2 separate regions of the Homo sapiens genome follow, and region 2 is linked to region 1. The links are contacts of gene promoters, found by promoter capture Hi-C in blood cells and fetal thymus (Javierre and others, 2016). All regions are on one chromosome and are shown on one strand. The core of a region is centred on a gene start or on the middle of the fragment in contact, and the rest is flanking DNA. Distances in the headings are between cores, read along the strand shown.

Region 1 (7,079 bases), core at 2,640-5,139:
TTGATGACATGGTAATTGGGCCTGGAAGTGGGGATTTCTGTCACTTACCTCTCCTTGAAAAATAATCACTATTGCCAACGCCTGGTTAATTAGCCTGATTCAATTCTCTTCAGCCTCATTTTGCTCAAATCTACCAGATTTGTGGTGCTCCTTGGTCCTCCACCACACTTTCTACCCCTCATCCCACTTTGTGTGTGTGTGTGTGTGTGTGTGTGTGTGTGTGTGTGTGTGTGTGTGTGTGTAGGACATGGCCAGGAATCCTGACTGGCTTCCTTTAAAACAGGTGTCCCCAACCCCTGGGACATGGACTGGTACCGGTCCCCGTTAGGAACCAGGCTGCACAGCAGGAGGTGAGCAGATGGGGCGGGAGCATTACCACCTGAGCTCCGCCTCCTTTCAGGTCAGCCGTGGCGTTAGATTCTCATAGGAGCACACACCCTACTGTGAACTGTGCATGCGAGGGATCTAGGTTGCACGCTCCTTATGAGAATCTAACTAATACCTGATGATCTGAGGTGGTACAGTTTCATCCTGAGACCATGCCCACCACCCTAGTTCCGTGGAAAAACTGTCTTCCATGAAACTGGTCCCTGGTGCCAAAAAGGTTGGGAATCAACCTTTAAAAGACACTGGGGGCTGGGCGCAGTGCCTCACGCCTATAATCCCAGCACTTTGGGAGGCCAGCGTGGGCGGATCACAAGGTCAAGAGATTGAGAACATCCTGGCCAACATGGTGAAACCCTGTATCTACTAAAAATACAAAAATTAGCTGGGCGTGGTGGTGGGCATCCCAGCTACTCAGGAGTCTGAGGCAGGAGAATTGCTTGAACCCAGGAAGCAGAGGTTGCAGTGAGCCGAGATTATGCCACTGCACTCCAGCCTGGCAACGGAGTGAGACTCTGTCTCCAAAAAAAAAAAAAAAAAAAAAAAAAAGACACTGGGAACAGCTGCCCTCATTGGAAACCTCTTTCTGAGATCGCACGAGGAATGCTGCTAAGTCCTTACTTCTCAAAGCGTGCTCCTTGGACTAGTGGCACTGGCATGTCCTGGGAGCTGATTAAAAAAAAAAAATGCACACTCTCAGGCCTGACCTCGGATCTAATGAACTAGAACTTGCATTTTAATAAGCTCTCCAGTGATTCTTATGCACACAAAAGTTTGAGAAGCACTGTTCTGAGACATTGAACATATGTGCCTGAAACTAAATGGCTGAAAAAGAATCAGCCAACAGATATATTTTTTCCCCAAATCTTAACATAATGGCAAAATACTGACCCTTTGTGAAGTATCTACTGAATCCTGGCACTGAGGTAGGCAAAGTACACACACAGCCCCTTTTCATCCTTCCAACAGCCCTGCACATGAGTATGAGTATTCTCAGTTACAGGTGGGGAAAGTGAGGCTTAGGGAGAATCTGACTTGGAGTGGTTGTGAGTGTAGAGACTTTGTTGCAAGAGATAGCTGAGCTCTGGTTGTAGCTCATGCACTTCCTAAGTGTGAGAGCTTGGGTAAATTATTTCATCTTTCTGAACCTTAGTTGTTTCATCTATTAAAAGACGATAATAAAACTTATTTCACAAGGTGATTAAGAGTACTACAAGAGATAATGTGTTTAAACTGCTTCACAAAGGCCTGGCATTATAGTAGATTAAGAGTAGCTGCTACCAAATGTTACACAGTGATTCCTGTGCTTTTTTATAATATTGTGGCTTCCCAAGGTCACTCAGCTAGTCAATGGGAAAATGGAGATACCTGGAAAGAGGTAAATGCCTGAACTTTGAGCTTGGTTTTGTGGGTATCTGGGGATTTCTGTTAGCCACTCATGCAGAACTACCATCTTAGTCGCTCTGTTTGGGCGGGCTCTAACCCCGGCAAGAAGGAAAGCAGGGACATAGCACAGAGAATTTGATGCAACCCTCAGTTAAAGGATCCCTTGGGTTCAACCTCCTCCATTTTACAGCTGAGGAAACTGAGGTGAGGAGAAGAGCGAGTTCTGTCCAAGGTCATGCATCACATAGGCACAGGCTCCAGAGGGTCCTGCTTGGTGTTCTTCCCATGGCTACACTCTACTTGTCTCTAACCTGGAAATTCAGACAGGTCCTAAATAGTCAGGGATCTTCCACCTTAGCCCCTGCAATCACTGCACTTGCCAACAGGCAGTGAGTGCAGTGGCCAGGAGCACAGCTTCTAGAGTCAGTTGGTTCTGAGCTTTGAATCCCAACTCCCTTACCTACCATGCTCAGTTTCTTCAACTGTAAAATGAGGGTCATTTTAGGAACTGTATTCTAGGGCTCTGATGAGGAGTATGCAAGATAATACATGTACCTTATTTAGTCTACTGTCAGTACATAGTAGATACTCAATAAATGCTGGCTCTTATGTTACTGTTATTATCATAGTTATCATCATCATCACCACCATCTGTACCATTAGCACCATTACCATCATCAACACCATCACCATTGTCACCTTTGTCATCATCACCGATACCATCACCATCATCACCTTCACCATCATCATCTTCACCATCACCATCAACATCATGCACCCTAGACCTGCCTGGGCTCAACACTTTCCTCAAGATCAAAATCTCTGTTCACATTCTTCTAAAATTGACATGATGTTCAGAATCTTGAGAACAAAGTTCAAACAAGTGGCCTTATCCTGCAGTAGCTCTGAAGATACTCTCTTTGCTCTGACACTGACGGTCAGGTCATGCTTCATAGTACAGTCAAGTGTAGCTGGAAGAAGCCTGGACTTCAAACCCAGCTCTACTACTTTCAGACTCAGGCCAGTTTTAAAGAGAAGGAAGCAAGAATCAGAATGTGAAACAGTTTACCTTATCTTTAGAATGGGGATGATACTACCCATCTCATAAGCTGATTATAAAAATCAGAGAAGAAAATAAATGCATAAGCTCCAGATGAGTGCCTGGCCTTTATTGATGATTCAAAAGAGAACTATACTATGTATGGAATTGAGAATGTTACAAATGCAGTCACAGTTCTAGGAGAATGACTGAAGTTTCTTGGCAGTTCACAGTGCCATAGACTGATAATCCTGGATCAAACTAGCAACATACCACCTGTTACTGATGGCCTATTCCACACCCAGGTATGAGGGACCACCATGCAAGGGTAAAGGTGAAAGGCAGCAGTATGCCAGCTTATTGAGTGCTCACTGAATGCCAGGTATCATCCTAGTGTATTGCGTACATTACTGTACATTTGATTCTTACGGCAAACCTATGAGACAGGTCCTAGTTTGCAGCTGGGAAGACAGATGAAATTACTAGCAATGGCTACACAGCTAGTAAATGACAAAGCTGGAATCCACACCTGCTTCTCTGTGTAATTGCACAGTCTGAATTTTCTCTGCTGAATCCATACAAGGGAGTTTGAGAGGATCCACACATCCTGAGTATGTCTGCTGTTAATCTCTATTCTCCCCTCCTATTATTTTTTTTGTGTGTGTGGGTGCCCTGTGACTGAATTTATAACATTCTCAATTCCATACATAGTATAGTTCTCTTTTGAATCATCAGTAAAGGCCAGGCACTCATCTGGACCTTATGCATTTAGTCTCTTCTCTGATTTTTATAATCAGCTTATGAAATGACGGTGTATGGGTCTGGGACTCAGTGGTAAGTTTAAGACTTTGGAGGTGGCTGGCTTCAAAGGGAATCCTTTGGCTCTCTTGTCCCAGGCCCATAGGTGGCACTCTGACACCATCTGCTAGAAGCACAGCCATCGTCTAGAAATACATCAGGTAGTCCCATTCCCCAGAATGAGGCTGCCTCTAAGCCTGTCACTACGCACACACAATCCCACTGGGGGCAGAGACCTGGGGATGCCAGCTCACTCTCACTCCACCTGCATCAGATGTGTGCATTAGACAGGCTGTGGGGCTGTCCTGAAACTCTGCGCTTGCCCAGTGCCTTTGGATGGGTGCCCTGGGAAGGCTGGAAGCTGGGCGGGCCCTGCAGAAGAGGATGGAGCCACAGCTTTGCTGATTCCAGTGAAGCCCAAGGAAGGGCTCAGCTATCCAGGAAACCCTCCAGGGGAAAAGGATTGGGTTCTGGAATCACAAAGCCCAGGGTCTTAATCACAGCTCTACTGCTTACAAGCTTCGGACATTGAGTTGAACTCTTGACAGTCTGAGGCCCAGTCTCCATATCCGTAAAAAGGGAATAATGAGGCCTTCTTAGGTTTGCTGGGGGTGTTTGAACAGGTGAGTAAAATGCCAAGCACAGTACTTGGCACAGTCTGTACTCGGTAGGTGCTGGTGAGAGGCACATGGTCGATATCCACAGGGGTCAGCAGAGGGGCATGACACCGTGCTCTGGGTGAAAGAAGGAAGGACTGTCTTGGAGGTAGTCTGGGAGGACAGAGGGGAGAACTGGGATCTCATCCTCTTGCTGGCTGATCTTAGCCGATCAACCTTTTGGGTGAGTTTGCAGCCCCTAGGCCTTTCAATCCCCAATCCCTATATTTACATCAAGCTGGAACCAGCACTTTCAAGGCTGGTTGCTCTGAGGGTGGGGTTTGGCAGGGGCATGGTGGGGTGGAGGTTCTGGAAATCCCTTTAGAAGGGAAATTGGGAGAGTGGGCTCAAGGGATGCCTCTACTTGGAAACACTTTTTCTCTGAGACTTAATTTCTCCATGTTTCACAAAGAAAATACAAATGTTACATTTCCTCTTTCTCTCTGGACATCCTTGTCAAGACCATATGGGGGCCTCTCTGACTGGCAGCTCCCGCTAGTTCAGAGAACAGTGTTACTGGCAAATGCTGCTTTGGAGTGGTGACCTGTGCGATGGACTCATCCAGGCTGTCCCTTGGAGAAGGGAGGGTACGCAGGGCATGGTGCCCCTCTCTAGGGCCAGGGCTGAAGGAGGAGCCTGAGGCATGAACACGGGGGGGCAGGGCCTCCAGCATACCTTGTAGCTGTAGGGGCAGGCACAGCGGTACAGCTCCACAGGGTCCTGGGTGCATGTCCCGTTATTCTTGCACGGGCTGGAGAGGCAGGCATTGCATTTGGCCACAATGTTGATGTCCACTGGCCCTGGGCAGCAAAACCAGAGTACTGATGGCAGGTCCTGAGTGCGCTCACTGCCATACCTCCCTTCCCCTCTGCTCTGGGCCCTCCCTCAGCCAGCGCCAGCCCCTTCCCAACTCCATGCCCAGATGGCAGCTGGCTCTCCTCAGCCAGCACATCCAGTCCAGCTAGAGTCCCATTAATTCAGCCACTGTCCAGTGAGGAAAAATCACAGTGGGACATCATTCAGAAACACTTCTGCAGTCAAATCAATTACTGTAATTAGCCTGATCCGATTTTGGTGCTAATCTGCAAACAATGCACCATAATTAGAAACCCCCTGTGTATCTTTTCATATTCCAGGAAGCTCTGGGCCCAGGCTCCATTCGGACCTCCCATTTTTCTACCCACAAACACCCCTCCCCATGGAATAGTCTGTGCCAGGCTAAGCAGGGCACAGTGCTTGGGCCAAAGGCACACAGAGGAAGTCCCCCCTGGAAAACCTTGGAAGAAAGAAATGGATGGCCCCAGAGGACACAGCGATGATGCTGACAATGGACAGAAAACTGCTCAGGTACATGTTACGTCTGTGACCGTTTCAGCCGTGTGCTTGCTTTAGCTGCGAGCACTGGAGGGAGGTCAGGGTCCTTCCCAGAGCTTTGCAAAGGGGGCTGTGTCCTGCTGCTGCAGCCAGCTTTGACAATGAGCCCTGGATAAACAGGCCATATTTAGTGTCAGGACTATAAATGACCTTGGGGTTAACAGTTATCAACTTGGAGATGGGCTGAGATGAACTTCAGTGAGTGACTGTTTGTGGATGAGTAAAAAGAATGGCCTGATTGAGAGCTGGTACCAGGGGCTCAACCCGACTTCACATTAGAAGAGGAAGACTATCTGTCTTGGTTTGCTTGGGGCTGAGGGGGTTTGCAGGACACAGAGCTTTCAGTGCTAAAACCAAGAATGGCCCAGACAAAACCCAGATGACTTAGCTGCCTTACACTACCAGCTACAGTGTTGTTTTCTGTTTGTTTTTTTTTTTTTTTGAGATGGAGTCTCACTCTGTTGCCCAGGCTGGAGTGTGGTGGTGCAATTTCGGCTCACAGCAACCTCCACCTCCTGGATTCAAGCAGTTCTGCCTCAGCCTCCCAAGTAGCTGGGATTACAAGCATGCGCCACCACACCTGGCTAATTTTTGTATTTTTAGTAGAGATGGGGTTTCCCCTTGTTGGGCAGACTGGTCTTGAACTCCTGACCTCAAGTGATCTGCCCGCCTCAGCCTCCCAAAGTACTGGGATTAGAGGCATGAGCCACCGTGCCCGGACCCTGGCTGCAGTGCTTTTAAAAGTCCCCACACCCAGGTTGTACCCCAGACCAATTTAATCTAAACCTAGAGGGTGGAGCCAGGCTTCAGTAATTTTAAAAGCTCCTGTATGATGTCCAAATGTGCAGCCAAGATTGAGACCTATACTGTTCTTGGCCTAGGTGAGCCTCTTTAGTATCAGATCAGATAGCTTAGAAGCAGGAGGAGGAAAATTAAAATTAGCTTTAAGCCAATGGAATGTTTTTCTGCTTGCAGCAGAAGTGTAGGACACACTAAAGTTTGAGAGGGTAATTAAAGTGTATCTATATATCAAAATAAGTATTAAGCCTCTCAGAGATGAGCAAAAGAGATTATCAAACAACTGTGTATACAAATGAAAAGTACGTTTTTGATGAAAAATTCAGGTTCCCCAATAATCAAAGACAAAATAAAAGGAGTTTTTTTTTTTTAACCTATTGAATTAGCAATGAGAAAATAAGAGAAAATAATGAGAGTCTAATGAAAAATGCAACCAAAGGATGCTACTGGGAATGTAAATTGGTTATAACCCTTTTTGAAAATCAATTTGGCAAAATGTGTGAAGACCTTAAAAATAATAATGTACTTTGATTCAGTAATTTCTATTCTCTGAGTCTTATCTGAGGACATGATTTCAAACAGAGAAAGATCTTTATGTGTCAATGGTAAGACAAAAAAATGGAAATACTCGAAAGATTCAAAAC
Region 2 (7,079 bases), core at 2,836-5,335, 580 kb after region 1:
AAAGGTAAGGTTGGGGCTCCTGGGAGGTCTTAGGGAAGAAAAGGAGAAGCTCGTAGTCAATGGTTCCTAAGAGAGCTTCAGGTCCCAGGAACTACCCGGGAAAGTGAACCCCCGTGACCTGGCTTGACACCACAAAGACAAGGCTGGTATAGTTTGCTGAATTTCAGCCAATAAAACAATGCTGTAAAAAAAAGGCACTGACAAAAAACAGACACAAGGTAAGAGCTAACATGTTTGCCCACGGCTGCACAGCAGCAAGGGACAGGATCTATCCGGTGAGGAAAGAAAATGTGAACCTCTGAGCAAAACGATTATAACTGGAGGAAGCCAGGGGATCTCTAGGGTCAAAAGCCAACAGGGACAATTAAAACTCAGCTGTGGATGTGTCAAAATAGTGTACTGTCCCGGGCAGCTTACCTGGGACCCTGAGCTCCTTTCCAAAGGGCTAGTTCTCTATCCCATGAGGGTATCTTCCCAGATCTAGGCATCAGCAGACACTACCATGCAGAAACTTGAAAAATGAAGCCATTGTGAGTTATTAGCATTGCATGAGTCATTGTTCAGTGCATAAATTCATGGACAAATCAATATACAAACAAAAGAACACAAATTGTTAACTGTGGCTAATATAGGTACCATTTTAAGTCCCTACTATGTGTCAGGGTCTGAGACAGAAGCATTCCTCATCTTCACAATAACCCTACAAGACAGTTACTATAGTACCCATTTTACAGATGAGGATCCTGAGACCCAAAGAGATGAAGGGACTTATCTACATTCACACAATGAGAAGTGATGGAATTTGAAACCAGGTTTGTCTGAGTGGAGTATCCAGGTGCTTGCCACAATGCTACACTACCTCACAATATCTGTAATTTAGTTAGAGCATTGAATGTGTGTTAGGCATTTTGCATTTACTATCCTTAGTTCTTACAACAATCCTTGAGATAAGTATTATTGTCTTTATGTCTTTTTTTTATGAGAAAGACAAGTAATTTTTCAAAGGGCACATTTTGAACACAGATTTTTTTTTTCTTGGAGACAGGGTCACACTCTGTCACCCAGGATAGAGTGCAGTGGTGCAATCATGGCTCACTGCAGATTGACCTCCTGGGCTCAAGTTATCCTTCCCACCTCAGCCTCCTGAGTAGCTAGCACCACAGTTGTGTACCACCATGCCAAGCTAATTTTGTTATCTTTATATTTTGTACAGATGGGGTCTCACTATGTAGCTCAGGTAGGTGTCAAACTCATAGGCTCAACTGATCCTCCCACCTCAGCCTCCCAAAGTGCTGGGATTACAGGTGTGAGCCACTGCACCTGGGCCTGAATACAGATTTTTGAATCCAGATCTCCTTGGCGCTAAGCTCCTGGTCTTTCCACCAAATCTGCTGCCTATCCAATTCAATTTGATTTTTGAAAATATGTTGATTTTGTCTTATTTTCACAAGCATTGTACTAAGCTTCTATAGAGAAATGCCAGCTCCTGTCCTCAAGGAACTTTTTGTCTACTTAAGAGATTAGATTATATGGTACAGAAAAATGATGATCATAACTATATAGCTGTGGAGGTTTTAAAACACAGCTGCAACTTCTGAGACTTCTTACATGGAGAGATGACCCCTACCCTTGCATGTGGGCAAGCTTGTACTGTTCAGAGCCACAGAGCAGAGCAGAAGGGGTACTATGTTGCTTTTAAGTCCATTCATAAAAAGCCATGCTACTTCTGAGTTGTTCTGAGTTGCTGCACACCTCTTCTCAGAGTGTGGAGCAACCATGTGAGAAGTTAGACTACTCAGAGGCCACCATGTTGTGAGGAAGCTCAAGCCACATAGAGGTCACATGTGTAGACACCCTGCTCAACAGTCCCAGCTGAGCCCAGACTTCAAGTCATCCCAGCCTAGGTGCCAGACATGTGAGTGAACAGCCTGCTGGGGATTCTAGCACCCAGGTATTCAAGTCTCTCCTGGTCATTCCAGACTCTGCAGATGATGCCTCAGACTGTATGGAGCAGAAATAAGCCATCTCTACTGCACTACGACGTAGAGAATCATTGAGCATGATAAAATGGTTGTCACTTTAGAACACTAAGTTTTGGGGTGGATTGTTAAGCAGCAAAATATAGCCATAATAATGGCTTTTGGAGTGATTATTTAATGCCAGACACTGTCCTCTAAGCTTGACATGTATTACCTCATTTGATCTTCCTAGTAAGCCAGGGAAGCAGGTTACTATTAAAGACCATGCCTAAGATTACTTAGCTACTAATGGCATTCAAAACCAGGTCACACTAACTCCAGCATCAAAGCATCAATAATCTAAACTGCTGTACTATAGAGGAAGCAAAATTATGTCTCTGAATAAAACCTACAAAGCCCCAAGCCAATCAGTTTTAAGAAACACCGACTGCTATTTTTTTAAACTAAACATCTTTTTTTTTCTTAATTTCAGAAGGCTTACTGTGGAGCTGAGCTAATTATTTGAGCCTTAATCAAGGACCAGCCACTTCCCGAAGCAGCTGTCCTGGCCTCTCTCTTGCCTCTAGAAAGTCTCTTGAATTGGATATTGGCTCAGGTCTAAACCCCAAATCCCAGCCCCCAGAAGTGAGGATGCATAGGGCTGAAAGGATCCTTGGAGATCATCCAGTCTACTTCCCTCATCCCCTTTAAAGATCAGGAAACTGAGGCCCAGGGAGGTCAAATGACTTGTCCAAGGTCACATGGTGTGTCAGAGGTACGGCCAGGTCGCCAAATTCCCAGGCAAGCATTCTTTCCACTACACCATGCTGCAGTTGCTAAAAATTCCCCAGAGCCGCCTCCCTCGGCCCTCCTCTCGACAAAGCTATTTTCCCCCCACACAACTACACACAGTCACATTTGGCAAGAGGTGCTATCAGCCCTGCTCTGCTCGTGAAATGCTGTTTTGCAATGGGGCCTCTTTGTTCGTTAGCAACACAGACAAAGAAAACTGTAGTGCAGTCTTCTTGGAAGAAGATGTTTCTTGTTTTAAAGACGGGAAGAGAGCTTCCTGACTGAATATGGCTTGAATCAGCATGCAGCTCCAGTCAGGAAAGAACCCAGAGGAGACTTAGGTCTTTGCAAAATTTCTAGAATGTACAAGGAGGGCACACGGCAGGGGGAAGCTTATGGGAAATGTTTCAGAAAGTACTAAAATGTATGCCTAAACAGAGTAAACAGAGCAGATTGGTTACCATCTTGTGCTATGAAGCAATTAGAAGGGGAGGGGTGTTGGTAGGGAACTAGAGTCATTAAAAGCTCCCATGAAGCAACTGGCCTTCCCATTTTTGGATTCCTGCTCCAGTCCTGGTTCCCAGTGTTCCTTCCCTTGCCGTTTTCTTCAGCTGGGATCTTCCCTCTCTAGACTCGAAATAAGCTGCAGGCTTGGTGCTGAGAGCCCTCAGGATATGATCTGCCATCCCGAGTCACCCATCTGGTGCCTCTCCCCTCTGCTTCCACATGATTCCCTATTTTTTTTTGTACTAGATGTGGTCCCTCTTCTGTCTCCCTAGCTTCCCAGATTGGCAGAGGCTTCCCATGGCTCTGCATGATCTTTGCACAGGATGAGGCAGAAATGAAGGCACCTTTTCATAAGGGCAGACCACACCAGGAAGCTGAGGTCCTCTCTGGTGACCTTTCTAATGCATTTCCCTTTGGAGATGGGTTGAGATCAGTGGGGAGGGAGTAGACCAGATGATCTCCAGTGATACCTCAAAAGCCTGAAAATCTCTTGGCTAGGGAAGCCAACAAGAGGGGGAGGAACAGAACCAAGTTCTGTGGCACAAATTCAGAACTTGTACGCTGGCAGCAGATGGAAAGGGAGGTGCCAGCTTCTAGCAGGAGGGGATGTGGTGGACGCGTTTCTCAGGGCGGTTGCAAGCCACAAGTCTTGCATTCCAAAGGACCTGGTGAATGCTGCCTGAGAACCTGCCTCTGACACAGCCACAGCATAGGTCTCCAGGCACCAGGTGAGATCTCCAAAAAGAAACTCCACTGGCCAAGTGAAGGTTCTTAGACCCTTTCTCCCAGAGCAGGGTCTTCCCCATCGCCTACCCCATGCTTAGGCAAACTTGCCCAAAGTACAAATTTTATTCCAAATCCCCCTCCCTCATTTTCCCCTAGGAAAATTCCTCCTGCTGAGTTAAACCTAAGAGAGAAAAATAAAGATATTACCACTCAGGGAAACAATGTCCTAGGGGTCCCTTGCAGCCGAGGAGGGGAAGGGAAGCTGGCCCCCTAAAGAAGGCCCTGTATCTCCTCATGGCCTCAAATGCTGCTGTGCTGTGTGTCAGTGTTTATGAAATGCTTCTCAAATAAGGTCAGTGTTCTACACAGAGTTAGAACTCTAATAAAATGCAGAACTTGTGCTGTTTGCCAGCTAGCTGCAGAGGCATACTTGAATGCTTTCTCAGATACAATTGTTCTCAGATTAATATTTCCCCCTTGAGTTTTTTTTTAATTCCACTTGTACTATTTTTTTATGATGTGGGAGGCTTTCTACATATTTGTACCCACTAAAAGGGATGAGGGGGCTTGCTTTCATCAATGATTCCTGAGGGTTTGGTGCTACATCCTTCATGGTTCTAGCATTTCTCCCAACCCATAAATCTCCCTGCTCTGAACCTAGCATGGTAGCCTTTGCCTTGTCAGTCATTTAGAGGGAGAGACAGTCCAGACTAACTTTGAAGTTAGTTTGAACTGTTCTAGTTACCAGAACATTTCACTTGCTTTATTCATTGTGGTAGACACTCAATAAATGGCCCCTTTAAATGACTCCATCCTTCATGGATTCCCTTATTTGGTCCTACTGTCTTGGACACTGTCACTTATTAATTACCCAGTCCTCTAAACTCCACCTGGTTAAGCTGCTGACATGGCTGGTATGAGGTTATATTTTAATTTGTAAAAGATGCATCTTGTTAAATGAAAAGGAAACTGGAACAAGAGTTTGAAGACATGGGTGACTCTGAGCAAGGCTTTGGAGCTCCCTGAGTTTCTTCATCTGTAAATGAAAGCTTCTAAAATATACCCTGATCGTCTTCCAGATACAGGATTTAGTGGTTCAATTCAGATATTGTGGGTGGACTCATTAAGGTATTCGCATAGCACTAAATTTAGAAGGCATTTGGAGACATCTGATCTCATTTAAACCTTGCATCAGCCCCCTGAGATGAGTGTTATTTCTCCCATTCCAAAGGTTATAGATGAGACTATGGAGACCGCAAAGGTACTCAGACAGGTCGGGCAGTTAGAAAGTGACAGAAGCCAGGATTCAGCCTAGGTCTTTCTACTCATTTCGGCTTACATCCAAATTGTACTCCCCCTTGGCTTCTCACTAATTCCACTTAGAATCCCCATACTCAGAACACTTTCTACCTACATTCTAGAGCTGGAGAGAGAAGAAGAGGAGAGAAAGAATGTCAGCAAAGTACTAGATAGTCCAGAAATTTCTGCAACACATTATTGAACAGGACAGCTCTCCAATGAGATCATCACTGCTGCGCTTTTTAATTACAAAATGATCTGTCCTATTTGGGATACAGGGAGTTCAGGAGTATGTCTAAGTAATTCATCATTTATAGAGTCCAGCCCTGGGGCACTTTTACATGCTACCCTGGACATGATAAAAGATTTCAGATGGCCATAAAGACGAAGTCTGAGGTTGTTTCCAGGGCAGAACTCTGAGTTCTTGCAAGTCTGCAGTCTCCAGTGAAGGTCCAGGCCATGAAATCCAATTTCAGGACCTGGGGTTCTGATGGTGACAGTCCAAATTCAATACTAAGGCTATGGAGAATACATAGAGGGCAGTAGAGGGCAAGAAGCCAAGCTAGAAGGATTAAGGCAGGAGCCAGGAGTAGCTAAAGCTCAGGGAGAGATGCAAACATGCACAATTCTATGGTCAAGTCATAAAACTCCGATTAGAAGAGGATCATGGACTCCACAGCATGCAGACATACCTGAGTTAGGGCATTCACTAGGGCACACACTAGGGCATATGCTAGGGCACATACTAGGGCATATGCTAGAACATACACCAGGGCATACGCTAAGGCACACACTAGGGAATATGCTAGGGCACACACTAGGGCATACACTAGGGCACACACTAGGGAATATGCTAGAACGTACATTAGGGCATACGCCAGGGCACACACTAGGACATATGCTAGAACGTACACTAGGGCATACGCCAGGGCACACACTCGGGGATGCACTAGGGCATACGCCAGGGCACACACTAGGAAATATGCTAGGGCACATGCTAGGGCATATGCTAGGGTGTGCACTAGGACATATGCTAGGGCACACGCTAGGGTGCGCACTAGGGCACATGCTAGGGCACATGCTGGGACACATATTAGGGCATATGCTAGGGCACACGCTAGGGCGCGCACCAGGGCACATGCTAAGGCACACGCTAGGGCATACACTGGGGCATATGCTAGGGCACGCACTAGTACATGTGCTAGGGCACACGCTAGGGCATATACTAGGGCACACACTAGGGCATACACTGGGGCACACACTAGGTTGCGCACTAGGGCACATGCTAGGGCACACGCTAGGACATACACTGGGGTACATACTAGGGCACGCACTAGTGCATGCGCTAGGGCATATACTAGGGCGCATACTAGGGCATACGCTAGGGCACACACTAGGGTGCGCACTAGGGCACATGCTAGGACATACACTAGGGCATATACTAGGGCACGTGCGGGGCATATGCTAGGGCAAATGCTAGGGCACGCACTAGGGCATACGCTAGGGCACATGCTGGGGCACGCACTAGGGCACGCACTAGGGCATATGCTAGGGCACACGCTAAGGCACACACTAGGGCATACACTGGGGCACATGCTATGGCAACCACTAGGGCACACGCTAGGGCATACACTGGGGCACATGCTATGGCACCCACTAGGGCACACGCTAGGGCACATGCTAGGGCATACGCTAGGGTGTACACTAGGGAATACACTAGGGCACGTGCTAGGGCAAAGAATGGATATGACTGGTAACAGACAGGAGCTAGAGAGGTAGAAAAACCCAAGAGGTAGA

What was found. The method cuts DNA at HindIII sites, captures the fragments that hold promoters and counts their contacts. A CHiCAGO score of 5 or more calls a contact.
Region 2: a contact is called between a fragment that was not itself captured here and the fragment with the promoter of SLIT3-AS2 in region 1, in 4 of 17 cell types (M1 macrophages, M0 macrophages, M2 macrophages and 1 more). The highest score is 7.8, in M1 macrophages.

The regions. Positions count from the first base shown.
Region 1 is chr5:168,703,038-168,710,116 of GRCh38, forward strand. SLIT3-AS2 (SLIT3 antisense RNA 2) reads left to right here and starts at 3,890. Exons shown (of 7, transcript NR_130737.1): 1 at 3,890-4,230; 2 at 5,400-5,610; 3 at 7,018-7,079. It overlaps SLIT3 (slit guidance ligand 3), which reads right to left. Exons shown (of 36, transcript NM_003062.4): 26 at 4,939-5,063. The HindIII fragment of the contact is 12,206 bases long and covers 1-4,124 here.
Region 2 is chr5:169,283,891-169,290,969 of GRCh38, forward strand. All of the region lies in intron 1 of SLIT3 (slit guidance ligand 3), which reads right to left. Among named protein-coding and RNA genes, the nearest start is that of SLIT3, 14 kb to the right of the region's middle. The HindIII fragment of the contact is 1,890 bases long and covers 3,141-5,030 here.